Regions from separate parts of the Homo sapiens genome. Here all the other regions are linked to region 6. Evidence: promoter capture Hi-C in 16 types of primary human blood cells and fetal thymus (Javierre and others, 2016). All regions are on one chromosome and are shown on one strand. The core of a region is centred on a gene start or on the middle of the fragment in contact, and the rest is flanking DNA. Distances in the headings are between cores, read along the strand shown. Region 1 has its middle 4.3 kb from the start of CPAP. Region 2 overlaps SACS (sacsin molecular chaperone). Region 3 has its middle 7.6 kb from the start of LINC00327. Region 4 overlaps SACS (sacsin molecular chaperone). Region 5 overlaps TNFRSF19 (TNF receptor superfamily member 19). Region 6 holds the start of SPATA13-AS1 (SPATA13 antisense RNA 1). Region 7 overlaps SACS (sacsin molecular chaperone).

Region 1 (3,742 bases), core at 714-3,213, 670 kb before region 6:
GGTGTGAAAACTATTATGGTATTGCTCTGCAGTTATCACATCAAAGATTCAAGCTAGAAATCCTTTACAGTCTATTCAACATCATTGGTCAGGCATTCTAGAATATAGTGGATGTGATCATCCCTTTGTTGTACAGACCCATTAGGTTTCCAGGATCTTTTGTTGTAAGTCCAATACACCAGCAATAGATTTAACTATATCAAAATGCCAAGATTAAAAAAAGTCTCTTTGCACCCAACATTGTTGTTAGAATCTTCTTTACTGGCCAGGTGTGGTGGCTCACGCATGTAATCCCAGCACTTTGGGAGGCCGAGGTGGGCAGATCACCTGAGGTCAGGAATTCGAGACCAGCCTGACCAACATGGAGAAATCCTATCTCTACTAAAAATACAAAATTAGCCAGGCATAGTGGTGTGTGCCTGTAGTCCTAGCTACTCAGGAGGCTGAGGCAGGAGAATCACTTGAACTCGGGAGGTGGAGGCTGCAGTGAGCCAAGATCACGCCACTGGACACCAGCCTGGGCAACAAGAGTGAAACTCCGTCTCAAAAATAAGAAACTTCTTTACTGAAGTAATTCTAGAAATCTGTTTCAGGCCTTGGTGAAGAACTCCTTCACTCTTCCTGCAGGTAAAGGAGGGTGTGGTTTTTCTTGGGTTTGTCTAGAGGCCAGACACATGCATCTCCCCAACCTGCTGGAGTTCCCCTTTCTAGCCCGGATCACCTGGGCTTGGGGATCTGCCAGGTCTGTCCTGCAGACTCTGGCTGAGCAACAGATGAAAGGAGTACTCAGACACAGGTATGCAGTGTTTAAGAGCAGCTAGAGGACTGCTGGGCACTAGTGGCTGAAGAGTGAGTAGTCTTGAACAGCTGGAGCTGCCTGTTTTTATTCAGTACAGACATAATGCTGAAAGCCTGGAGAAAACACAATCTGCAGGTAATTAACATTATTGTTCCCCCTTCAGGGAAGGGGTCACGTGTGTGAATGATCAACGGTCAGCTCCTGGTCAACATAAGTAAACAAGCCTGTTGTTAGTATTCGATTTAACCTTCTGAGGTCTTACTGACTGGGATGTTAGTATATATCCAAGATATTTCCAAGGAGAGGACATCTGTACCTTTTCAGGTGCTATGATTAAGCCTGTTAACTGTGTATTCTTTTTGACAGAGGCATATAAATTCAAAAGTATTGGCTCCGTTGGGGCTGCCAGTAAGATGTCATCCATATAATGGATTATCTTGCAATTAGGAAATTCTTTTCTACTGGGGAGCAAAGCCTTATTTACACGATACTGACACATGGTAGGACTGTTCAGCATTCCTTGGGGAAGTACTTTCCAGTGAAATCAGGGAGCTGGGCCTTCATTATTGATAGCTGGTATTGTAAACGTAAATTTTTCTCTGTCCTGTTTTGCAAGGAGAATAGTATGAAAGCAGTCTTTTAAGTCAATAATGACTCAAAACTCGAGGAATCACTGCGGGGGGAAGGGAGCCCCTGTGGAAGGGGCCCCATAGGTTGCAAATTAGCATTGATAGCCTGTAAGTCATGCAGAACTCTCCATTTACCAGACTTTATGGGAATGACAAAAAATGGGTGAATTCCAAGGGCTGTCTGCTGGTTCTATATGGCTGGCTTTTAATTGTTCCTCAATTAATTCATGGGTTTGTTGTAATTTCTCTCCCTTTAAAGGTCACCGTTCTACCCAAATTGGATCTTGAGACAGCCATGTCAGGGGTAGGGGAGGACTTACAACAGTGGCCACTATTAGAAAGGGCTCTGCATAGTGACCCCCCCATTGGGCTAATAAGGTCCCATTCCCAAAGATGAACAGGGATGGGCATGATTAGAGGTTGTATAGTTGCTTTTCTTCCCTCCAAATCGTGACTTTAGAGGGCGTGCACTCTGCTTGGCTGTGTGCACTTCTCCAGTGCCGACAATTTTCTGTTTCTGAGTGACCCATATGTTTTACCCAGCCAATTGATTCTGGTTGGTTTGTCATTCACACAACTCATCATATTCTGCCATCCAGAGGAGGTATTGACTGGCCTCTAAAGTTGTTTGAGCTAGCACTGACCTGTCCCATGGGATCATAAGGAAGTTGTCTGCTATGGCCTCAATTAATCCTTTTGTAGATGGGCTAGCAGCTCTGTTTTCTCTAATGCTTTTTCTTATCTCTTTATAGGTGTTGAAAGTGATGGGCTCATATACCTGATTGCCGTGTTGATCTTGCATCACAGGGCAGGCCAAGAGCTCCCCTTCTAATGCCACTTGCCTAAGACAGGGTCCCGTAACTGTAGTGTATCCCTTGTCTTTTTTTCCAATTTATTGGAGGAGGGGGCTCAGGGAAACTCTGTCTCCTCTGTGGCACCTTTACCTAGTAACAGTGGGGCTGAGGGAGGAGGAGGCGGTCAGGTAGGTGGATGGTTCCTCTTCCCTTTCCTTTTTAGGCTCTTTTGTGTAGAGTGGGGCCAAAGCAGCCCTGATTAAGGCCCATAACGTTAAAGATGTTACTGGGACCCGTTTCCCTTGTGCATGATGTTATTTAAGATTTCCCCTCACTTGCTCCCAGAGTTCTTGGTCTAACGTGCCTTCTTCTGGGAACCATGGGTTATTGAAAACAACAGTTTGCATTAGGCCCCTTAACTGAGCCTCCGAGACCCAGGCTCTGCTAGCTTTAAGCAGCTGTTTCAATACTTACATATAGTGTTGCTGTTGAGCTGATAACTGTTGTCCCATGATGAAACCCTAGGTTGAAAATTCCCTCAAACTTGGAAATCCTGAGTGGGCACCAATTACTTACTTCCCGCACAGTCTCTTCACCTCATTTTTGGGGGTTCCATCGTGATCTGTTGCAGCATTCCTCACACAGGGCACCAGTTGCTGGGTCTGTCCCACAGACCCTGGCTGGACGATGGATGAAACGAGTACTCAGACGCAGATATGCAGTGTAAGAGCAGCTAGGGGACTGCTTGGCACTAGCGGCCAAAGAGTGAGCAGGCAAACAGCTGGAGCTGCTTGCTTTTATTCAGTATAGACATAATGCTGAAAGCCTGGAGCAAAAACAATCTGTGGGTAATTAACATTATTGTTCCCCTTTCAGGGAACGGGTCACGCATGTGGATGATCAAAGGTCAGCTCCTGGTCAATGTAAGTAAACAAGCCTATTTACGATAAATTCCCCTATGCTTCCTGGTACCTACTCCTTGCCCTCTGCCTCAGGGTCAGAAAACAGCTGCCTTCAGCTTATTCTCCCTGGAGGCTATGCAGAGGCTTCCGACTTTTCAGAAGGTCTGCTCCTTTCCCTATAGTTTCTCCCACCACTCTGACTGATCTATAGGAATCATTCCTTGGCCAGGCTAGCCCTGATGTCCTCCCCCACTTTTTTTCTTTTTAAGAGTTGGCGGTTTCACTCTGTTGCCCTGGCTGTAGTCTCGTGGTGTGATCATAACCTTCAACTCCTGGGCTGAAGTGATCCTCCTGCCTCAGCCTCCCAAGTATGTAGGGCTACAGGTGCACACCATCATACCTGGCTAACGTTCAAACGTCTAGGCTCAAATTATCCGCTTCAGTCTCCCAAAGTGCTGGGATTACAGGTGTGAGCCACTGCACCTGACATGTCCTCTCTGGATAGAGTGGACACTTGCTACCATCAGACCAGCAATGAAAAGCTGTCAACTCTTTGTCACTCAGATCAACTTTGATTAAAAGAATTATTACCAGCCAAGCACAGTGGCTCATGCCTGT
Region 2 (3,500 bases), core at 823-3,322, 830 kb after region 6:
GGCCCTAGTCAAGTGGACTCCAGTCCCTGCATAAACATCAGGTCCCAGTTTGGCACATAGGCCCCAGGTGGACACCAGGCCCCTGGTGGATGCCCAGGTTAATACCAGGCCCCAGGTGGACACAAGGTCCCAGGTACATTCAGGTCCCGGGTGGAAACCAGGCCCCAGATGGACATCGGGCATCTGTATGTCAGGTCCCAGGTGGACACATAGGCCCCAAGTGGATGTCTAGTCCCCAGGTAAATACCAGGGCCAAGGTGAACAGGAGGCCCCAGGTGGACACCCTGACCCCAGAGGACCATCCAGCTCGAGGTGGACGTCAGGCCCCAAGTGGACACCAGTGTCCAGATGGACATCAGGCCCCAGGTAGACACTCGACTTGAGGTGTACACCAAGCACCAGGCTCACGCCCAGGCCCCCGATGGATACAATGAAACAACAGGTTCCATTCAGTGATATAATAAAGCACATCCCAAAGCTCCTTCACCCATATCTTCATGATAATTAACTGAGCTGGATAGTCACATGTTCATATATAGGCCTAATAACCTCAGAAATGTAATTGTTTAGATTCTACAAAACCTGTGTTTGGACTTGTTTAATGGAAACTCAGGTTCCATTCAGTGATTTAAAACAGCACATCACAAAGCTTCTTTGTACATAGCTTGGTTTTCGTTATTAGTACTGGACGTTCATATGTTGATATATAGGCCTGATAGCCCCTGAAATGTCATATCTGAGATTCTACAAAACATGTGTTTGGAACTTGCTTCATGGAAACACAGGTTCCATTCATTTATATAAAACAGCACATCAGAAAGTTTCTCCTCACATAGCTTGTTTTTCATTATTAGGGCTGAAAATCTATGTAGGTACAATAGTCTCTGAAATCTCATTTCCTTTTTTTTTTTTTTGAGACAGAGTTTCCCACTTGTTGCCCAGGCTGGAGGGCAGTGGCGTGATCTCGGCTCGCTGCAACCTCCGCCTCCCGGGTTCAAGTGATTCTCCTGCCTCAGCCTCCCAAGTAGTTGGGATTACAGGCATGCGCCACCATGCCCGGCTAATTTTGTATTTTTAGTAGAGCCGGGGTTTTTCCATGTTAGCCAGGCTGCTCTCGAACTCCCGACCTCAGGTGATCTGCCCGCTTTGGCCTCCCAAAGTTCTGGGATTATAGGCGTGAGCCACCATGCCCGGCCTGAAATCTCCTTTCTTAGATTCTCCAAAACATATGTTTGGAAATTGTATAATGGAGATTCCAGTTGCATTCAGTGATATAATAAAGCACATCAGAAAGCTTCTTCACACATAGCTTGTTTCTAGTTATTAGTAGTGGATATGTGTATATTCATATATAAACCCAATAACCTCTGAAATGTCATTTTTGTAGATTCTACAAAACATGTTTGAAACTTGTTTCATAAAAACACAGGTTCCATTCAGTGATATAAAACAGCACATCACAAAGCTGTTTTTAGTTATTAGGGATGGATACTCGTATATTCATATATAGGATAATATCCTCTGAAATGTCATTGCTTAGGTTCTAAAAAATGAGTGCTTGTAACTTGTTTAACAAAAACACTGGTTCTTCTCATTCATATGAAATAGTACATCCCAAAGCTCAAAGCTTCTTCACACATAGCTTGCTTTTAGTTATTAAGGCTCCGTATTTTTATATATAGGCCTAATAGTTTATATATAGGCCTAATAGCTTCTGAAATCTCATTAATTAGATTCCACAAAATGTGTGTTTGGAACTTGTTTAATGAAAACTCACGTCCCATTCAGCGATATAATAAAGCACATCACAAATGTTCTTTGCACATAGCTGTTTCTAGTTATTAGGGCTGGATATTAGTAGGTTCATATAGAGGCCTAATAATCTCTGCAATGTCATTACTTAGATTCTACAATACGTCCTTTTGGAACTTGTTTAACAGAAATGCTTGTTCCATTCAGTGATATAAAACAGTGCATCCTAAAGCTTCTTCGCACATAGATTGTTTTTTGTTATTAGTGATAGATAGTTGTATATTCATACATAGGCCTAATAGCCTATGGAATGTCATTCCTTAGGTTCTAAAAAATGTGTGTTTGGAACTAGTTTAATAAAAACACAGGTTCCATTCAGTGATGTGAGACAGCACATCACAAAGCTTCTTCACAGATTGTTTCTAGTTATTAGGGATGGATATTCGTATATTCATATATAGACCTAATAGCCTCTGAAATGTCATTCCCTGGGTTCTAAAGAACGTCTGCTTGGAAGTTGTTTAATAAAAACACAGGTTCCATTCATTGATATAAAACAGCAAATCACAAAGCTTCTGCTCACATAGCTTGTTTTTAGTTATTAAGGCTGGATTTTCATATGTTTATATATAGGCCTGATTGCCTCTGAAATCTCATTAAATAGGTTCTACAAAACGTGTTTTTACAACTTGTTTAATGGAAACTCACATTTCATTCAGTGATATAATAAAGCACATCACAAATGTTCTTCGCACATAGCTTTTTTCCAGTTAATAGGTCTGGATATTCATATGTTCATATATAGGCCTAACAATGTCTGAAATGTCATTGGTTAGATTCTACAAAACATGTTTCTAGTATGTGTTTAACAGAAACACAGGTTTCTTTCAGTTATATGAAACACCAAAGGCTGAGGCAGGAGAATGGCGTGAACCCAGGAGGCAGAGCTTGCAGTGAGCCGAGATCGTGCCACTGCACTCCAGCCTGGGCGACAGAGTGAGACTCCGTCTCAAAAAAAAAAAAAAGAAACACCACATCACAAAGCATCTTTGCACACAGACTGTTTTAGTTATTAGAGATGGATATTCAAATATTCACATAAGACCTAATAGCCTCTGGAATGTCATTCCTTAGGTTTTATAAAACGTGTGTTTGGAACTTGTTTAATAAAAACACAGGTTCCATTCATTCAGTGATCTGAAATACCACATAACAAAGCTTCTTCATGCACAGATTGTTTTTAGTTATTAAGGATGAATATTTGTATATTCACATGTGGGCCTAACAGCCTCTGAAATGTCATTCCTTAGGTTGTATAAAACGATAAAATGTGTGTTTGGAACTTCTTTAATAAAAACACAGGTTACATTCAGTGATATAATAAAGCACATCACAAAGCTTCTTCTCACATGGCTTGTTTTTAGTTATTGGGCTGAATTTTCATGTTTATATATAGGCCTCTGAAATCTCATTTGTTAGATTCTATAAAATGTGTTAGGAACTTGTTTAATGAAAAGTTACGTTCCATTCAACAATATAATAAGGTACATCACAAAGCTCCTTTGCACATAACTTTTTTCTAGTTAGTAGCATGTTCATATATAGGCCTAATAACCTCTCAAACGTTGTTACTTAGATACTTAGATAATACACCATAGGTGGACGCCCAGGCCGTAGGTAAATACTAGGCCCCAGGTGGAAACCAGGCCCCAGATGGATATCAGGCATCTCGGTGCATGTCTGTTCCC
Region 3 (3,687 bases), core at 1,104-3,603, 790 kb after region 6:
TCTCACAGTTCTGAAGACCAGAAATCCAAGTTCTAGATGTCAGCAGGTTTGGTTTCTTCTGAGGCCTCTCTCCTTGGCTTGCAAATGGCCATCTTCTCCATGTGTCTTCCTGTGATCTCCCCTCTGCGTGTGTCTGTTTCCTCATCTCCTCGTCTTAGAAAATCACCAGTTATATCAGATAAGGACCCACATCAATGGCTCGATTTTAATTTTAACTTAATTGCCCCTTTAAAGAGACTATCTCTGAATTATAGTCATATTTTGAGGACTGAGAGTTAAACTTCAACATATAAATTTTTGAGGGGGACATGATTCAGCTCATAACAGTGTTCTCGAGAGTCTTAAAAGGTACAGGCCCTTCAGAGTGTAAAATGACACATACAGAGATAACACTCTGATGTTATCTCACGTCTAGACTCAGTCCACACATCTTGGCAGGACTACCTCAGAAGTTATGCTGTGTTCTTTTCAGGAGCAGGAGCCAACATTTTTCAATTGACCAAGTTGGTGTCTGCCAGTTCCTTCATGATAAAGTCACCATCTTGGACTTTGTATTTGATTAGTGTTTGGGTGGAGAGATTTAATGTCATGTCAGTATCCTGTTCTTTTGTCAAACCTTCACGGGTATCCTTAGCATCCAGTTAGGCTTTTGAAGTTAAGAGAGGGGAAGGAAAAGTGGAAAGAGAAGAAAAGGTGGAAAGAATAAAGTTTAAAAAAAATGTTAAGATAGCATTTTAAGGTACTTAACTGGAATGTTTAAAAGGGGAGACCAGTAACCTTCTATTTTCAGTTCCTTGTTTTTCTTGTAGCTTTGCCTAGGATGGCTACAGTAATGCTTACATAAATCAAAAAAATGTGCTCTAAAAGAGAAATTTAACTGAACAAAATCTCATTAGTAATGATAATTCAGCAGATTTTTTTTTTGAGAGTTTACTATGGGCTAAGGTTTCTCTAAGTATCAGTTCTTTTCATTCCAACTGCAATTAGATGAGGTGGCATTATTGTAATTTCTGTCTTACAAGTGAGTAAATCGAAGTATAAACATTCCAGGGTCCTACAGCTAATAAGCCTCCTTGGAGTCTCTGGGTCTAAAGCCTGTGATTGTAATCATTACCTATATTGCTATCTGGGCACAACGCAGCTACTAGTATCTGCAGTGGTAGAGATCTGAGGTCCTACATGCTCCAAAGTTGAGTTCATTTCTACATTTAGTGTCAAAATGACGAAGTGGTTTCCAAAATTGGAAAATGAGTTTCCATTCCCTCTTCTAATTAGAATTTTTAAAATGTTTTCTTTGTTTTGTTTTTCAATTTCCAAATTTTGTTTTTCAGAGGAAGTAATGCCTTATCTTTCATTTCACTTAGCTAGCTCAAGGAGAGGACTGAATTCTTTTTTTGGAATACGCAATGACCTGAATATGCAGTGTAAGAGTCAGTAGCAACAAGTGCAAGTCAGTGAAACAATTAGTTTCATAAACACAAAACATGGCCTGGCCAGCAAGGGAGGGCCTGAGTGCAGTCTTTAGCACGTCCACACACCACAGGGCAAGATGTTGGACCAACCCTATTTTTACCTAAGACCGGGAGGAGAGCAAATATCTCCTGAAACTGGCTAATTTTCCAAGCCAGGAGCTTTATACAGTCTAAACGACCATGTGAAGTTAGCATTTTTACCTTCATTTTGTGACAAGCAAAGTGTGGTTCAGAGAGATTAAGGAGACAACCGTAGGTCAGTGCTGGAGCCCAGATGTGAACCCACATTTGTCTGGCTATCTCCAAATCTCATGTTCTTTTTATTTATATCACACTGACTGCTTTTCGGTGAGTGATATCCCACTAAGAATTGAGACTGATTCTCAACTCCCCCAAAGCCATGTGCCAGGCTCTCCTGGAATGTGGTCAGCATTCGATGGGTGGGAATGAGGTGCCCAGGATTGAAGGTGCTGCTGTCAGGGAGGACCCCAGCTGCACTCACAGCTGTGTGACTTGGGTATGTTCCTCAGGCCATGTGTTCACCATTGTGCTCATCATAAAATAGGGATTATATCATCTGACTCATAGAGTGAAGGGGATTAAATGAGATAGTTCATACCACATGCTTAAGACAGGGCGTTGCAAATAGTAAGTGCTCAATAAAAGTCAGCAATTATTAATTTATTATAACTAACTGGTCTGGTTAGACTGCTGATTGAATTATGAATTTGGAAAGCTGTTCCATGAGGGTTACAGAACAGCCCTATCCTATTCAACGGCTTAAAAGGGACTTGAGTATGTGTATGGCATACATACTCTTTACATTTAGGATGATGGTAGCTTGGATGGTAGGGTCAGATACCCAAAGCCTGGGAATCTGGAGTAGTATGCAGCTAGACTGTGTATAGATGCCTTAAAAAATCCACCATCAACTCAGTGGCTTAAACCAGCACTCATTATTGTCAGCTGATCTCAGCTCTAGGCTGGGGCACTTGAGCTGGGGCACCTGTGCTCCATGTGTCTCTCAGCCTCCTCTCAGGGCACAGCGGCCATCCCAGACACAGCCTTCTCATGGTGATGGCGGAAGCATATGCATCCAAGTCCAGTCATGGAAACACTGTTCAGGGGTGTATGATCTCATAACTCTTAACTTTCCATTGGCCAAAGCAAGTCACATGGCCATGGTGAAGGCTGGAGAATGACACCACCCTGCAGAGTGAGGGCTCTGCAAAGCTAAGCAGGACAGAGTGCACGGAAGAACTGGGACCATTCGTGCAGTATAATATAGGCTGGATTCAAGCAGGTGGATACATTTAAGATTTTTTGTTTTTGTTGCTTATGTCCAAATTTTATCCCAAGAAGACAAGCCTAAGCAACAGCAACTGTAGGAAGGAAGTGGTTGACGCTATGTTTCCTAATAGGTAAGGAGACCATGCAATTGTCATCCAAACTAGGACATTCAAGAGTAAAACAAGAGCATCATTAACAATTCAGCCAGGACAACAGGCATATTGGAGACTGTCCTGGGCAAAGTGAGACCTGCGATCACCTAATGTGTAGCTTAACATATTGCTATGGACATCATGTGCTCAGGCTGAATTACTGGGTGTATAACACTAGAGGATGAAGAAGACAGTTGTGCTCTCCTTAGTGCTGGGCTGGCCATACCTAAAGTATTGTCTTTATATTCGAGTTTTCAAACTAACTGCTCTGTTTAGAAGAGAGGTGAGGGTGCTGTGGGGTGTAGAAACTTTGTCAAATGACTCTTGATGCAAGGAACAGAGCATATTTGTGAGAAATAGGAAATGCTTATGGGACACTTGACATCTGTGGTCAACTATATGAAAGTCTGTTGCAGAAAAGAGGAATTAGACATGCTTGGTATTATTGCACAGGATAGACCTTAGACCAATGGTTCTAAAAAAAGAATATTGAAATCTGAATCAGAAAAATTATATCTTATTTCTACTTACCAGCTGTGTGACTGGCTAAGCCATGCAACTTCTCTGAGCCTCAATTTCCTCATTTGGAAAGAAGCAATAATGTAAATAAATAACTCAGTCTTGCTGTGAGGATTAAATGAGATTGTGTTCGTATTATCCAGGGTTCTCCAGAGAAACAGAACTGATAGGATATATGTGTGTGTGTGTGTGTGTGTGTGTGTGTGTGTGTGTGTGTGTGTGTCTATACATATATGTAAAAGAGGGGATTTGGC
Region 4 (3,639 bases), core at 684-3,183, 870 kb after region 6:
TAGGTTCTATAGAAATAATAAATTCTATACCCTGTAGAAAGAATAACTTTTAAACCCTTGTAGAGTGAATAGAAAAAAAACCAAATCCATTGAAAATTTGTAGAAAATATAAAACTCCATAATTGTAGGAAATATAAATATCAGAAAAGCTGCATAAAAGTGGTCGCATATTATTGTGACTTCTGGCATATGTAGATGCAGCCAAATAACTTGACATTTTGATGTAAAATTAAAATGCTCCCTTGTCCATCCCCCAACTCCCTGCAAAAAGAAGCAAAAAGCAGAAAGAGTAGAACTGATCCTTCTCACAGTAGAAGAAAATGATGGCTAAATGCAGAATACAAAAAGAACAGATTTTAGACATTGTAATTTGTTCTTTTATCTGCATAGAGGATGGAAGCAAATGTGTCCTTCAAAGAGAATCATGTACTACGTATCCCTTGTACACGTATTCCGTCCTTTTTTTAAATTAGAGAAAGCTTAGCTCAGACTTTCAGCTGAGACACAGAATAAGATCTTTCTAAATTCGGAGGTTGAAGTTTGGCAAGTAGAGCACATGTACTTTGCAGATACCATATTAAGTAAAATTAGTAACGTGGATGTAAAGACGACTTTCTAAGTGTTTGCCTTTTCCAGTGACCCTGGTCAGTGGGCAGAAATAAATCATCTTTATATCCACATGTTACTAATATATATATATTTTTTTACAATTCTGAATTTTATTTTGTAGTCATGCTGATTAGTAGACATTCAGTTCCTAGTTATAAAACCAACTCTAAAATTGCATTAATAAGTATTGGGCAACTTAATAAAGCTGTAACCTTTCACATCATTTCAGGAGCACAGTAACTATTTAAAGCCTTCCTGTAACTTAAAGACACAGGCTATATATATACACAGGCTATATACACACACACACATACACACATATATATATACACACACATATATGTTTTAGCTAAATGGTAGAGGGTACTAAGGAGTAATTAACAGATGGGTGTGTCTTTGGTAATTGACACATACAAGTTTCCATTTAAAATCTTATTAATAAATATATAAAGAATGTAAGACATTCAGCTCCATGCCTTGTCCATAGAAAACTCATGTTATGTATTTTTTGAATACATGGATTAAAATTTGGTATTTGCAAATGATACTTTCTTTTGGTTTCTGATTCTTTGGTATTTTATCACCCTGAAATACTATATTAAATTTATTTATTTATTTTTAATAGTTTTAGGGATACAAGTGGTTTTTGGTTACTTGGATAAACTGTGTAGTGGTGAAGTCTGAAATTTTAGTGCACTCATCACCTGAGTAGCGCACGTTATACCCAATATGTAGTTTTTTATCCCTCAACCCCCTCCCACCCTCCCTGCTTCTGAGTCTCCAGTGTCCACTGTACCACTCTGTATGCTTTTGTGTACCCATGGCTTAGCTCCTACTTATAAGTGAGAACATGCTATATTTGGTTTTCCACTCCTGAGTTACTTCGCTTTGAATTAATGACCTCCAGTTCCATCCAAATTTGCTGCAAAAGACATTATTTTATTTGTTTGTTTTTTTAATGGCTGAGTAGTAGCCTGTGGTATGTGTGTGTATATATATATATATATATATACACACACACCATATTTTTATATTTTATATATATTTTATATTATATGTACCATATATATATATATACACACACACCATTTTTTAAATCCACTCATTGGTTGATGGGGACTTCGATTGGTTCCATATCTTTTGTTTTTTCTTTTTTTTTTTTTTTTGAGACAAAGTCTCGCTCTGTCACCCACGCTGGAGTGCAGTGGCGCAATCTCGGCTCACTGCAAACTCCGCCTGCCCGGTTCACGACATTCTCCTGCCTCAGCCTCCCAAAGTGCTGGGATTACAGGTGTGAGCCACCGCTCCCGGCCCATATCTTTGCAATTGTGAATTGTGCTGTGATAAACATATGTGTGCAGGTGTCTTTTTGATATAATGACGTCTCTTCTTTTGGGTGGATACCCCGTAGCAGGATTGCTGGATTGAATGGCAGATCTACTTTTAGTTCTTTAAAGAATCTCCATACTGTTTTCCGTAGAGGTTGTACTAATTTACATTCCCATCAGCAGTGTGTAAGTGTTCCTTTTCACCGCATACATGCCAACATCTATTGTTTTTTGACATTTTAATAATGGCCTTTCTGGCTGGGGTACAGTGGTGTCTCATTGTGGTTTTAATATGCATTTCTCTGATGATTACACACATTATTACTTAATAGTACCTCACCGCCATATTCTCTGGATCCATAGATCATGTTGTAATAAAAAAGTTTAAGGGACAGATTAAGTTGCAAGTTCCTGCTAAGGAACTGAATTCTCTGCACCATGCTGTCCATTGGGTAAACTCCTGATATCACAGAAGCTGCATCACCTGAACTCAAACCACCACCCTACACAGGTGAATGGCAACTTCCCAGATAAATGGTTTAAAAACCAGCCGTCTATGAGGACCAAAAAGAAACGGTCAGGGTGACCAGGGGACCAGCTTATCTCTACAGGGTCTTCCAGCTTCGTAGTGAAAGTGAAGCCCTTAGAATGGCAAGTCCAGGAATACCTTATTTCATTCACAGACTTTTTTTTTTTTTTTTTTTTTTTCTGAGACGGAGTCTTGCTCTGTCGCCCAGGCTGGAGTGCAGTGGCACGATCTCTGCTCACTGCAAGCTCCGCCTCCCGGGTTCACGCCATTCTCCTGCTTCAGCCTCCTGAGTAGCTGGGACTACAGTTGCCCGCCGCCATGCCCGGCTAATTTTTTTTGTGTTTTTTAGTAGAGACTGGGTTTCACTGTGTTAGCCAGGATGGTCTTGATCTCCTGACCTCGTGATCTGCCTTCCTCGGCCTCCCAAAGTGCTGGGATTACAGGCGTGAGCCACCGCGCCCGGCCGACATTCGTTTTTAACAAATCGAAGGTTTGCAGCAGTCCTGCATCCAGCAAGTCTGTTGGCACCATTTTCCCAACAGCAAGTGCTCCGTTAGCGTGTCTCTGTGTCGCATTTTGGAAATTCTCATAATATTTTAAACATTTTCATTGTTATTATATCTGCTTTGGTGATCTGTGATTACTAATCTATGGTGTCACTATTGTAATTGTTTTGGGGTGCCACGAACTGTGCCCAAATAAGACAGTAAACTTAATCGATAAACGGTATGTTCTCTCACTGCTCTACCAACAGGCTGTTCTTGCCTCTCTCCCTCTCCTCCAGCCTCTCTTTTCCCTAAGACACAACAGTATTGAAATTAGGCCAACTAGTAACCCTATAATGGCCTCTAACTCTTCAAGTGAAAGGAAGAGTTGCAAGTCTCTCACCTGAAATCAAAAGCTAGAAATGACTAAGCTTAGTGAGGAAGGCAGGTTGAAAGCCAAGACAGGAAAGCCAGGCCTCTTGTGACAAACAGTCAAGTTGTGAATGCAAAGGAAGTGTTTTTGAAGGAAATTAAATAGTGCTATTCCAGTGAATACAGAAACTATAAGAAAGCAAAACAGCCTTATTACTGATTAGGAATCAATTTGAGTGGTCTGGATAGAAGATCAAACCAGCCATAACATCCCCTTAAGCCAAAGCCTAACCCAAACAAAGGTCTAACTCTCTCC
Region 5 (3,771 bases), core at 302-2,801, 680 kb after region 6:
TTTGGTTTACAGTTTCTGGCACATAGTAAGTTCTCATTAAAAATTTGTTGGATGAATTAGTAATTGAGAGTGAGAATCTCAAAGAGTAATAAAGTTTTCCAAATACAGTTAAGAAAATAAGTGGAGGAGGAACCCCCAAGACCTAGCTATTTAAGTAATTCCCGATACCCACTACTGCCAATTATAGACTATCAGCATGGGGCTGAGGGAGCACCGTGAGGCCAATGCCCAGTGACTTCCTGAATGCTGCACACCAAGTTAATTAACAAAGCTGGAATCAGAATCTGGGCTTTCTGTATCTTAACATAATCTTCACCATACCATGGGTGCGTAAACCAATATATATGAAAAACCCAAGGAGGCTATTTTTATAGCCCCCTCCTGTAAGTGGAGCTCAAGACACTTACAGAGCAAAGTTGTTACAAGTTGCAGCACTTGCACTGATCTTTGTGAGTTTGGCCCTGAGTACCTCATTGGCTAGACCCTTTTCATGAGTTCGATGAGGGAAGAGACAGTCCATTGACTCTCCTTCTCTCCTTCCTGATGAACATGGTGGACTCCCCGACCTAGGGCTGGCTTGAGGCCAGGCTGGCTGGGCAGCAGCCCATGGTGCTAAGCTATAGAGCCACCAAAGAATGGGGGGCATTTAACAGGATGGAGAAAACTATCTTTATCAGAACTCCTCTCAAAGACAGTGGGTTATGTTGGAAGGAATGGTTTTATGAAGTCATTGGAAACCCCCACATGACTTCTCCTTCCCCTTCTCATCAAAGAGAAAATTTAAGTCACAAAGGAGGGTTTTAAACTACCTACTTAATCTAAAGAAGTGAGTATTGATTTTGGCAAGTGGGTGGGTTTGAGGTAACAACTTTGGAGCCAAAGCTGAATGACTAGTGACAGTAGAGGAGAAATTAAAGCACAGCCAACACAGCCACCAGGGAGCCTCCCTCTGCCCTCCCATCACAGAGCTCACCCAGGTGGACAACGTTTTAAAGAACCATCCTTTAAAGGGGACAAAATCACTCATTCTTCCAGGGTGGCTTGGACTGGCCTTGCCATCACAGAAAGAGAATCCGACTAAACCAATGCCAGATGGTTGAGTTCAGTTCACTCCTGAAGCAGAGGGAGAACAGATTATGCCTTCATGGCTTAGGGAGGTCCTTTATGGCCATCCTGACAGAAAATACTATTAAAAATGTCTAATAGTTCTTACAAAATATATAAAAGGAAAAAAAAAAACTGGAGCCCATATTTTTGGCCAAAATTTTGGCTATAATGTTTGCTGACAGTCAAGTTCAGCTTTGTGTAATTCTTAAAAAGAATGAATCACCTAGCCCCAGAACAAAAAAAATGTAGATCACAATGCTGCCACTGAATTATTCCTATAATCTTGCACATGTTATTTATCCTTGCACAAGTACTTGATATTGAATTAATTGATAATGAGTGAATTAATAAATATTAGGTCATGTTAGTAATAATCTTGTATATGTAGGAATCCTAAAGAGGGTGATAAGCCCTATTATGAGGGCAGTTGTTTGGCCATGAGAGTCCTGTATTTGTATAAAATTTTATTAGTAACTAAATTAAAATTTTTCACACAAGATATAGATAGATAGATTTTTTTTTTTTTTTTTTTTGAGACAGAGTCTCACTCTGTCACCCAGGCTGGAGTGCAGTGGCGCCATCTCGGCTCACTGAAAGCTCTGCCTCCCGGGTTCACACCATTTTTCTGCCTCAGCCTCCCAAGTAGCTGGGACTACAGGCGCCTGCCACCTTGTCCGGCTAATTTTTTGTATTTTTAGTAGAGATGGGGTTTCACCATGTTAGCCAGGATGGTCTCGATCTCCTGACCTCGTGATCCGTCTGCCTCGGCCTCCCAAAGTGCTGGGATTACAGGCGTGAGCCACCGCTCCTGGCCCCAAGATATATTTTTTCAAGGAAGAAAAGCAAAGAGATAATGAAAACATGCTCAAGAGTCTTAACATAATCAAACATGATATGAAACACATATCATATCATGTTTGAAATGCACATTGAGTTTGTCAACTGAAGTTTCACAGAATCCCACTGGGAATTTCCCTGGAGGAAAATTAACCTTTAATTATTAAACTGTTTTTGGATGCCACTGGCATCATCTAAGAAAATATCAATTCCTTCAAAACACACAAATATGTGTTGATATAATGCCAAACTCGTATGTACACACACACACAGAGGCAAACACACAAATACATATATAATTCCACATCACATTGATGCATTAAACTTTTTGTGAAAATTATTTTACGTGTTAAATTATGTTAAATTATGGGTAGCAGCTACTGTGTTTAGACAGCTTAGAAGTCCAGAAGTAGAAGGAACAGTTGGAAAATAATCAGACGAATCCAGCTGACTGACATATCTATCATGGAAACAAAAAAAAAATGCACTACAATAGGAAGTGGCTGTCTTTATTTTTCAAACTAATATTGTTCTTTGATGAGCTACAGAGTGCATTTGTTTAAGCAGTTGTTGGAAAGCAGACCCTGCATGGTAGACTGGAAAGAACATTGGACTAGAACTGGGAAAATCAGCCATGTGACCTTGTTAAGATAGGGACATTCGTTTTCTATAGCCTCAGTTTCCTCATCTGTAAAATGGCCATAAAAATTCCAATTCTGCTTATTTCATAAAGATGATGTGATCAACTCCCTCACTTCACACATGAGGAAACTCTCTTGAGGTCATATAGCTAATTGGTGACAGTATCAGGACTCAACATAAAAGTCTTTTGAAGACTTGGACTTTCTGTAGTAACAAAGCTGCCATTGAAGCAACAGATAGGAAAGTGCTTTGAAAAATGTCACATAAGGGTTTTGTTCAGTAGAAGTAATAGGACTATATCTGCCAAAGTCATTTTGTGGCAATTAATTAGGAAATGCCTTTTGAGACTGTACCTGTACCTTCAGATACAACCATCTTTATTTTAAAATCAAATACACTCTATTTCATTTCTCAACAATGACACTAGAAGTAAACAATTAACTGAATTAATTCAAACACTGAAGTGGATTTTCAAGGACTTGACTTGCCCAAGCTAGTTTTCTACAAAGCCTAAATTAATCAGATAATTGCTAATTCTCCCCTTTGTTTTGTGCTGAGGAGAGCCTGTATTTGTTAAAATGATCCTAGTAGCAGGATAAACAGTCATTTTAAAAATTTTAAAATCCAAATCTGAACTAAATGAGCAAGTTTCAGACACACTATTTCTTTAGGCACCATCTCCAGTCATTGTTTTAAAAGGCTAATTTTCTTTATCTGAATGTGAACATTAATACCACTTTTGTGATTAAAAGGAAGATTTTAAGCAAACAAATTAAAAAAAAATCAAACTAAACCGATATTGCAGGATATTGTGAACATGATTTGTTGTACTCTTAGAAAAAAAAAGCAAATGCCTCTCCTGGCATGACTAAAAACAGCAGTTAAATCTTTAAGATTAAGTTATTAATGACACACTTTAAAAATATAATCAGTTTAGCATGGCTTTAAATAACCTCCACTTAACAACTAGCAAAGTTTTAAAATTAAATAAACAATGCTAATTACCCTTCTAGTATCAAGAGGAAAGTGTAGAAAGTAATTTAATTAATTGGCTGTGAAAAATTAATTACTTATGAAATGAGACTCATTAGACCTTTCCTGTTTCATCAGAATTTCAGACTAAAGGATAACTGGTCTTATCACTTATGGTTTCTTTATGGTTCAGCTAGCATCAAATAGACTTGT
Region 6 (3,460 bases), core at 821-3,320:
TTAATTTGGAGAGTTTTTTATATTATTATTTTAAACTCACATAATAATTGTACAATATTTATGGGGTACAGTGTGATATTTCAATATATGTATACAATGTGGAATGAGCAAATCAGGGTAATTAGCATATCATCACCCCAAGCACTTATCATTTATTTGTATTAAGAACATTTGAATCCTCTCTTCTAGCTATTTTGAACTATACAATACATTGTCATTAACTGTGGCACAGTAGGACTTATTCTTCCTGTCTAGCTCTATTTTTATATCCATTTACCAACCTTTGGTTATCAAGATTTTGAGAATACTTGACCAGGGAGGAGAAATATACTTTCATTATTATTTAAAAGTTGATACTACAGAAAATTTCAAATACACACAAAAGCAGATAATACCATGAACCCACGATTATCAGTCTTTTGCCAATATTGTTTCAACTATTTCCCACCAACTTTTTTGGAGTATTTTAAAACAAATCTCACATATCATATTTTATGCAGAAAGTATTTCACTATCTGTGTATAACAAACAAGGACTTAAAAATAACTGCACTATCTTATCCCAACTAACAAAATTAAAAATAATTCCTTCATGTTGCCAAATATTCAGTTCATCTGAAAATCTCCCCAACGTGTCTCAAAATGATGCTTTTACAGCTGGTTTGCTGAGCTCAATTTGTGGGCTTACTGAGCTGGATGCCATTCTAGCACTTCGTTGGTATATAAACCTAAAACCCTCAGTGCATAGAAAGGAAGGAGTTCCAGGACTGGGATGGAAATGCTAGAGATGGTCTATCATGTGAGTCTCACCACCCCTTGGGCTGCATCTCCCATGTGACAGCAGCTTTTATAATTAATGTACTGCTAATCTCTCTAGGCCAGAGATGCTGCTGAGAGATGGTTCCACTGCAATGCAAACCTGGTCCTCCATGGGGGTGGGACATCTGTCATGGGAAAAAGGTGGGCATAGTTACTATACCACACAGCAGGGCCAGCTTGGTCATCTGAATGGTTTGACCTGTGAAATCTCTGGTTGTGCTGTTAACTGATCTCGGGGTCCCCAGGAACAAAACAGATGAGTGATTCCACAAAGGTACCACAACATTGTGTAGGAGGAACTCTCCAGGGCTGGCAAGCAGAGCCCGACCTGAGCCACCATGACAGAGAAGACAAGGGAGGGCCCTCACTCAACTCCCAGACTCAGGCCTCTTGATGGAGCAGAGCCAGGGAGCCTCAGGGTAGGCATCCTACTACAAGTCTTCTTCCTAGCTTCTCAAAGAGAACTCCTACCATCAGCCTGGTGACTGTGTCCTCAGGACAGGGAAACTCCCGGCGGCAAATGTAAGCAATACTCTTCCCAAGCCTTTCTGAGTAGGAGAGATGGCTTTGGCAAGGCAAGGATTTAGCTCGTGCGCACTCCTGGTTAGGAGCTAATGGCCTGGCTGAATGGCCTGGAGGAATGTGGAAAGAACAAGATGGGCTGAGGATGGGTTTGGGGAAGGAGTATAACTGGCTACCTCAGAATACCCGCAGAGCATGAGATGATGTCCATCCTACATGAATCCTTATTGCAAGAGAGGCTAATCAATCATCATGTGGACATGCTGTCCCAATGTGCAGCTAGATGCCAGTCTTCCTTCCTAGTCATCTTGATACTTGCTCAGTGGGTTCATAAAAAGGAAAAAAAAAAAGAAGCAAGCAAGAAAAAGGCCATGGTGGCAAAAATGGATGCCAAGCCTGGGCTAAACCACAGGAAGTCTGGGCCTTCCCCTCAACAAAGCTGATGATACGGTTCCCCGCAGGAACCAGACAGCCCCTTGCGGAAAGCTGATTGCAGTGGGGCCTTTTCATAATAGAGGGGGTGGTGATTTGTCCCTACTGGAAGGGCCACTTATGCTGGGCTTGGATTTGTTTTCCTGCACTCTGTGGATCCTCTAGAAGGCCCCTATCCTGTCGCAGCATCTCACACGCCATCCAGGCCCAGAACGTCACAGAGAAGGAAGCACATGACCCCATCACACCCAATAACAACCAAATAAAAATGAAGTTACAGAGGCAGCTGGGAGACACACCCAGAAGTTGCCATACTGCCCTGGATGGGACGCAAGCTCTGAAGCAGTGACTAATTTGGAGAGGCTGGCCCACAGCAGAAGATGCAGGGCCGGAAACCAAGGGTAAACATAGAAGCGGCTTCTTAGGATTACTTAATAATATACTTGCAAAATGTTTTCTTCCCACCTAGGAACTCTGCTCTGTTGAAACTGAATTTAGTGCCCAAGGGAGAAGTACTTCCTCCAGAGTTCACAGTCCTGGCCACAGTGAATCAGAACCAAGGCTGGCCATTTTTGCCTCTTCGTACCACTGGGAAAATGAGCACCCACGGAAAATGGGGATGGCTTTTGTGGTCACTGCTACCATATTTCTCAAATGGACTAATGCAATCGCCTTCAAATCAATCTCCATTCCTCTTCCTTTCCCCCCACAAACTGCCCTCCCTCTCTAAGCATAAACCGGAACATAATATGCTCCTGCTGCCAATGGCTTCACACCACACTTAGAACAAGCTCAGCCTCCTCATGACCTGCAGAGCCCTTTCCAGCCTCAGCCCACCTCCCAGCCTGCAACATCCTCGTCTGCCTCTTGCTCCCTGAGCTCCTGTCACTGTGGCCTCCTTGCTGAACCTCAGACACATCATGTTTCCTGCCTGTCTTTGGGCTTCTGGTGCTCCTTCGGCTAGGACTTCTCCTCCCTCGGATCTCTGCCTCACTGCCTCCTACTCACCTGTCCCCAGCGTCACCTCCTTGGAGAGGAGGCTATCTCCCCCACCTGCTCCTACTCCTCACATTACCCAAAGTCATCTTCTGCAGGGCCGTCACTGGTGCCTTGGTGCATCCTACATATTGACTTATGGAATCTGTTCAAATGCTGAAATGTAAACTTTGCATGACGTTTTATTCTCCACAGCATCCCAAATTCTCTATTTCCTTCCTTTCCCTGCCTTGCCATTCTGGTAGGGATGTGTTGCTTAAATCTGCCTCTAGTTAATCAACGCTGAAGAGGCACTGCATGGAACTGGAGGACTAGTTATCCTAAGAGGTCCTAGACTTGGAGGTGTCTGCTGCCACTGATGAGGATCTGGGTGTCTCCTTCTAGGGAAGAGAGAGAGGGTTCATGGAACAGGTGCATCCTGTTCATTAGAGTGTCATTAGAATAACACTCTTTGGAAATGAATGCTCTCTATCCTGTTTTATTTTTCTTTATAGTACTGTCTGCTCTGTTAAATACTTACTTGGCCTGTCTTCACATATAGAAGGCAAGGGTCCCTGGAGACAGACACCCCACCCTTCTTCCTGTTCCAGTACCACCAGGTGGTGGACATATCACCTAAGCTCGGACAGCTGAATCTTCCATCCTGGGACCTGAACCCCTGGGTGAGTGACAGAAAGACAGTCACTAACTCC
Region 7 (3,454 bases), core at 569-3,068, 890 kb after region 6:
TATGTGCAGCTTTTGGAAATAGAATAATTTCCTTTGAACAAAAGCTTTGGGTAGATTGTAAATATGAGACAGTTATAAATAGGGCCCAGGATTAATTTGCTAAGTGATAGCAAATTAAAAGACAAAATTTAAGTGCAAATAATTGGAGAAGGACTTTTCAACCATACTGTCACATCTATGTAACAATTACTTTCAGTAGTAGCCTCACCAGATCTTAAAGGTAATGTTGCAAATAGTGGGTTTCCTTTATTTAAGTATATTAACTTCTTAAATATTATAGATAAATACAAAGATGAGCAGTAGATTACTGTGTTATTAATTACTATTTTTTGGTATATTTTTTGGTTAGGAATTAATTCAGAATGCAGAAGATGCTGGGGCGACAGAAGTTAAATTTTTATATGATGAAACTCAATACGGAACAGAGACTCTTTGGTCAAAAGATATGGCGCCATATCAGGGTAAGAATCAATAATTAGGAACAAATTTTATTGTATGCACTAACAGGCAGTTTTTAATGATTAATAATGCTTTGTTTAATGAACAGTCTATCATTTGTACTTTTTGGCATGTTTATGTCCACTTCTTCAGATGTTTTTCTCTGCTTTTGGTGGGAAGGTGTCTCCACCAGTTGGTATTTTTAGAGAACAAAGAATAAAATCTGAAAACTCAAAATGACAAGCAATGTAATGACCAAAGCCTCTTATTCTATTCAAACAACTTGTATTTTATATTATCAGTAGGATAAAGGGACACCATTTATGTATAGTAACACTTTCCTGCATTTGGAAAGATGTTGTGAAAGGCCATGCTTTTGTGTATTTTCCGCTTTAGGAGTACCCTCGACATTGTTTGGAAGTTGGGTGGGAAGAAAGATTGAAGGAGAGGAGAGAACAAGGAAAATGAAAGGAAACATGATAAGAAAGCCATAAACTAATAAATTATTAATCCAATAAGAACCCTAACCAATAGACTCCTAATATCTCACTTCTACTCCGGGGAGCTTTGGTGTCAAAAAGAATGTTCATAAATTGTAGTATACCTCTGGCTGGGTGCGGTGGCTCACGCCTGTAATCCTAGCACTTTGGGAGGCTGAGGTGGGCAGATCACCTGAGGTCAGGAGTTTGGGACCAGCCTGGCGAACGTGGCAAAACCCCGTCTCTACTAAAAATATAAAAATTAGCTGGGCGTGGTGGCAGACGCCTGTAATCCCAGCTACTCAGGAGGCTGAGGCCGGAGAATCGCTTGAACTCGGGAGGCGGAGGTTGTAGTGAGCCGAGATCACATCACTTCAATTTAGTATACCTCTGAAGTCATTGTCAATGACTGTATGTGACAGAAAGTTACTGAGAAAAAGTGGGATCAAGTCAGACCTTCTGAGACACCTTTTTAAAGAGATTTAAGTCATGTATTTTTAAAAAGATGTTTTATGATTTAGGAGGCCAGTTAACATTTAGTTAAATATCTAGCATTTGTTATGTCTCATATAGTCATTCTTAGCTCACATTTGTCACTTGAAAGTTGTACTTTCTATACTCTATAAAAAGAGGTGTGTGGGACATAACATCAGGAGGTGTGCGTTCTAGTCCTGACTGCTGCTACCTTAGTGACTTGGGCCAGTCATCACAGAGGTCAGATCATTTTTATAATAAGAGGATTAGCCTGCAAGGTATCTTGTCTCTAAGAGCCTGTGACTTAATGTAACATTGGATTCAAGAGACTTCAGGTTAAGTCCTAATCCTACACAGTACTACCCCATTGTACTGCCCCCCAGGCACTGTTACACTCAGTGGCAGCTGTGACCCTCACACTGACTTACTGCTTGCCTGCAAGTGGTATGAGAAAATCTTTCTCCCACATAGTTTGAGGATTATATGAGATAATATATGTGATAATGTTTTATACCTGGTATCATACTGATGACGGTATGTGCTGTGGAACTGCTAAGGTAAGAGTGTAAGGAGAGCCTATGATGTTTTTGCTTCTAGCCTTGACTTCACCTTGTTTTAAAAAACATTTGAAACTGGATTATTTTGCGAGTTTATGCATAGGTATATTTAGAGATAGGCTCTTTAAAAGTGGCCAATTTAAAATAAACGTGGGCTGGGTGCGGTGGCTCACACCTGTAATCCCAGCACTTTGGGAGGCCAAGTGGGCAGATCACCTGAGGTCAGGAATTCGAGACCAGCCTGGCCAACATGTTGAAACCTGTCTCTACTAAAAATACAAAAATTAGCCAGGTGTGGTGGCGGGCACCTGTAATCACAGCTACTTGGGAGGCTGAGGCAGGAGAATCGCTTGAACCTGGGAGGCAGAGGTTGCAGTGAGCCAAGACCCCACTATTGCAGTCCAGCCTGGGCAACAAGAGCGAAACTGTGTCTCAAAAATAAATATATAAGTAAGTAAAAAATAAATGTAGGCCAGGTGCGGTGGCTCATGCCTGTAATCCCAGCACTTTGGGAGGCTGAGGTGGACAGATCACCTGAGGTCAGGAATTTGAGACCAGCCTGGCCAACATGGTGAAACCCCATCTCTAATACAAATACAAAAATTATCTGGGCGTGGTGGTGAGCACCTGTAATCCCAGCTACTTGGGAGGCTGAGGCAGGAGAACCCTTGAACCCGGGAGGCAGAGGTTGCAGTGAGCTGAGACTGTGCCATTGCAGTCCAGCCTGGGCAACAAGGGCGAAACTCTGTCTCAAAAATAAATACATACATAAATAAAAAATGAAATAAATGCAGGCTGGGCATGGTGGCTCCTGCCTGTAATCCCAGCACTTTGAGAGGCTGAGGCAGGTGGATCACCTGAGGTCAGGAGTTTGAAACCAGCCTGGTCAACATGGCGAAACCCTGTTTCTACTAAAAATACAAAAATTAGCCGTGCGTGGTGATGCATATCTGTAATCCCAGCTACTCAGGAGGCTGAGGCAGGAGAATCACTTGAACCTGGGAGGTGGAGATTGCAGTGAGCCGAGATCTTGCCACTGCACTCCAGCCTGGGTGACAGAGTGAGACTCCATCTCAAAAAAAAAAAAAAAAAAAAAAGGAATGTATTATATAAAAGCAGGTGGCAGTGATCTCTGATCTCTTTATTTAACAAACATTTATTGAGAGCCCTCCAGGCTCTTGTGTATTTGAGAATATCTTTCTCTTGCATTCAGATGTGAGCAGTCATCTTGTATCATGGCTTTTCCCCTTTACTGGCACTTTGTTTCACAGCCAGAAGCTCTTAAGGTCAACTTATTTTTATTCATTTTTATATAATGAGATAATAAAAGGCTCAGATTGTCAAATCACATGCACAAGAATGAGAGCTCTCACCCAGTATAACACACTTTACTAAGGATTTCAAGGATACAGCTGATTATAAGACACAGGGGAAGGAAGCACGGAGAGTCCCTCTGTGCTGCACTAGGACACACCTTGGCCTGGATCTCACGGAGTTGGTTTCTGA

What was found. Contacts are between HindIII fragments. The CHiCAGO score rates a contact against its expected background, and 5 or more counts as called.
Region 1: a contact is called between a fragment that was not itself captured here and the fragment with the promoter of SPATA13-AS1 in region 6, in 1 of 17 cell types (naive CD8 T cells). The highest score is 6.3, in naive CD8 T cells.
Region 2: a fragment that was not itself captured here is called in contact with the fragment with the promoter of SPATA13-AS1 in region 6 in 1 of 17 cell types (total B cells); the score reaches 5.1 in total B cells.
Region 3: a contact is called between a fragment that was not itself captured here and the fragment with the promoter of SPATA13-AS1 in region 6, in 5 of 17 cell types (M1 macrophages, monocytes, M0 macrophages and 2 more). The highest score is 9.5, in M1 macrophages.
Region 4: a contact is called between a fragment that was not itself captured here and the fragment with the promoter of SPATA13-AS1 in region 6, in 2 of 17 cell types (activated CD4 T cells and total B cells). The highest score is 6.7, in activated CD4 T cells.
Region 5: a contact is called between a fragment that was not itself captured here and the fragment with the promoter of SPATA13-AS1 in region 6, in 1 of 17 cell types (monocytes). The highest score is 7.3, in monocytes.
Region 7: a fragment that was not itself captured here is called in contact with the fragment with the promoter of SPATA13-AS1 in region 6 in 2 of 17 cell types (naive CD8 T cells and activated CD4 T cells); the score reaches 6.5 in naive CD8 T cells.

The regions. Positions count from the first base shown.
Region 1 is chr13:24,925,251-24,928,992 of GRCh38, reverse strand. It overlaps a transcript of CPAP not described here and the pseudogene TPTE2P1. Among named protein-coding and RNA genes, the nearest start is that of CPAP, 4.3 kb to the right of the region's middle. The HindIII fragment of the contact is 5,023 bases long and covers 1-3,742 here.
Region 2 is chr13:23,421,940-23,425,439 of GRCh38, reverse strand. The region is part of intron 1 of SACS (sacsin molecular chaperone); the gene reads left to right. The region is part of intron 1 of SACS-AS1 (SACS antisense RNA 1); the gene reads right to left. Among named protein-coding and RNA genes, the nearest start is that of SACS-AS1, 4.7 kb to the right of the region's middle. The HindIII fragment of the contact is 172 bases long and covers 1,987-2,158 here.
Region 3 is chr13:23,460,112-23,463,798 of GRCh38, reverse strand. No RefSeq gene overlaps it. Among named protein-coding and RNA genes, the nearest start is that of LINC00327, 7.6 kb to the left of the region's middle. RefSeq lists enhancers at 2,426-2,595, 3,125-3,174. The HindIII fragment of the contact is 5,614 bases long and covers 1-3,687 here.
Region 4 is chr13:23,386,470-23,390,108 of GRCh38, reverse strand. All of the region lies in intron 2 of SACS (sacsin molecular chaperone), which reads left to right. Among named protein-coding and RNA genes, the nearest start is that of SACS-AS1, 31 kb to the left of the region's middle. The HindIII fragment of the contact is 2,903 bases long and covers 482-3,384 here.
Region 5 is chr13:23,571,931-23,575,701 of GRCh38, reverse strand. The region is part of intron 1 of TNFRSF19 (TNF receptor superfamily member 19); the gene reads right to left. Among named protein-coding and RNA genes, the nearest start is that of TNFRSF19, 3.4 kb to the right of the region's middle. RefSeq lists enhancers at 702-851, 1,322-1,491. The HindIII fragment of the contact is 6,515 bases long and covers 1-3,771 here.
Region 6 is chr13:24,253,049-24,256,508 of GRCh38, reverse strand. It overlaps SPATA13-AS1 (SPATA13 antisense RNA 1), which reads left to right and starts at 2,070. Exons shown (of 3, transcript NR_046531.1): 1 at 2,070-2,173; 2 at 3,310-3,430. All of the region lies in intron 4 of SPATA13 (spermatogenesis associated 13), which reads right to left. The HindIII fragment of the contact is 5,552 bases long and covers 1-3,460 here.
Region 7 is chr13:23,362,173-23,365,626 of GRCh38, reverse strand. It overlaps SACS (sacsin molecular chaperone), which reads left to right. Exons shown (of 10, transcript NM_014363.6): 6 at 350-461. Among named protein-coding and RNA genes, the nearest start is that of SACS-AS1, 55 kb to the left of the region's middle. The HindIII fragment of the contact is 3,544 bases long and covers 47-3,454 here.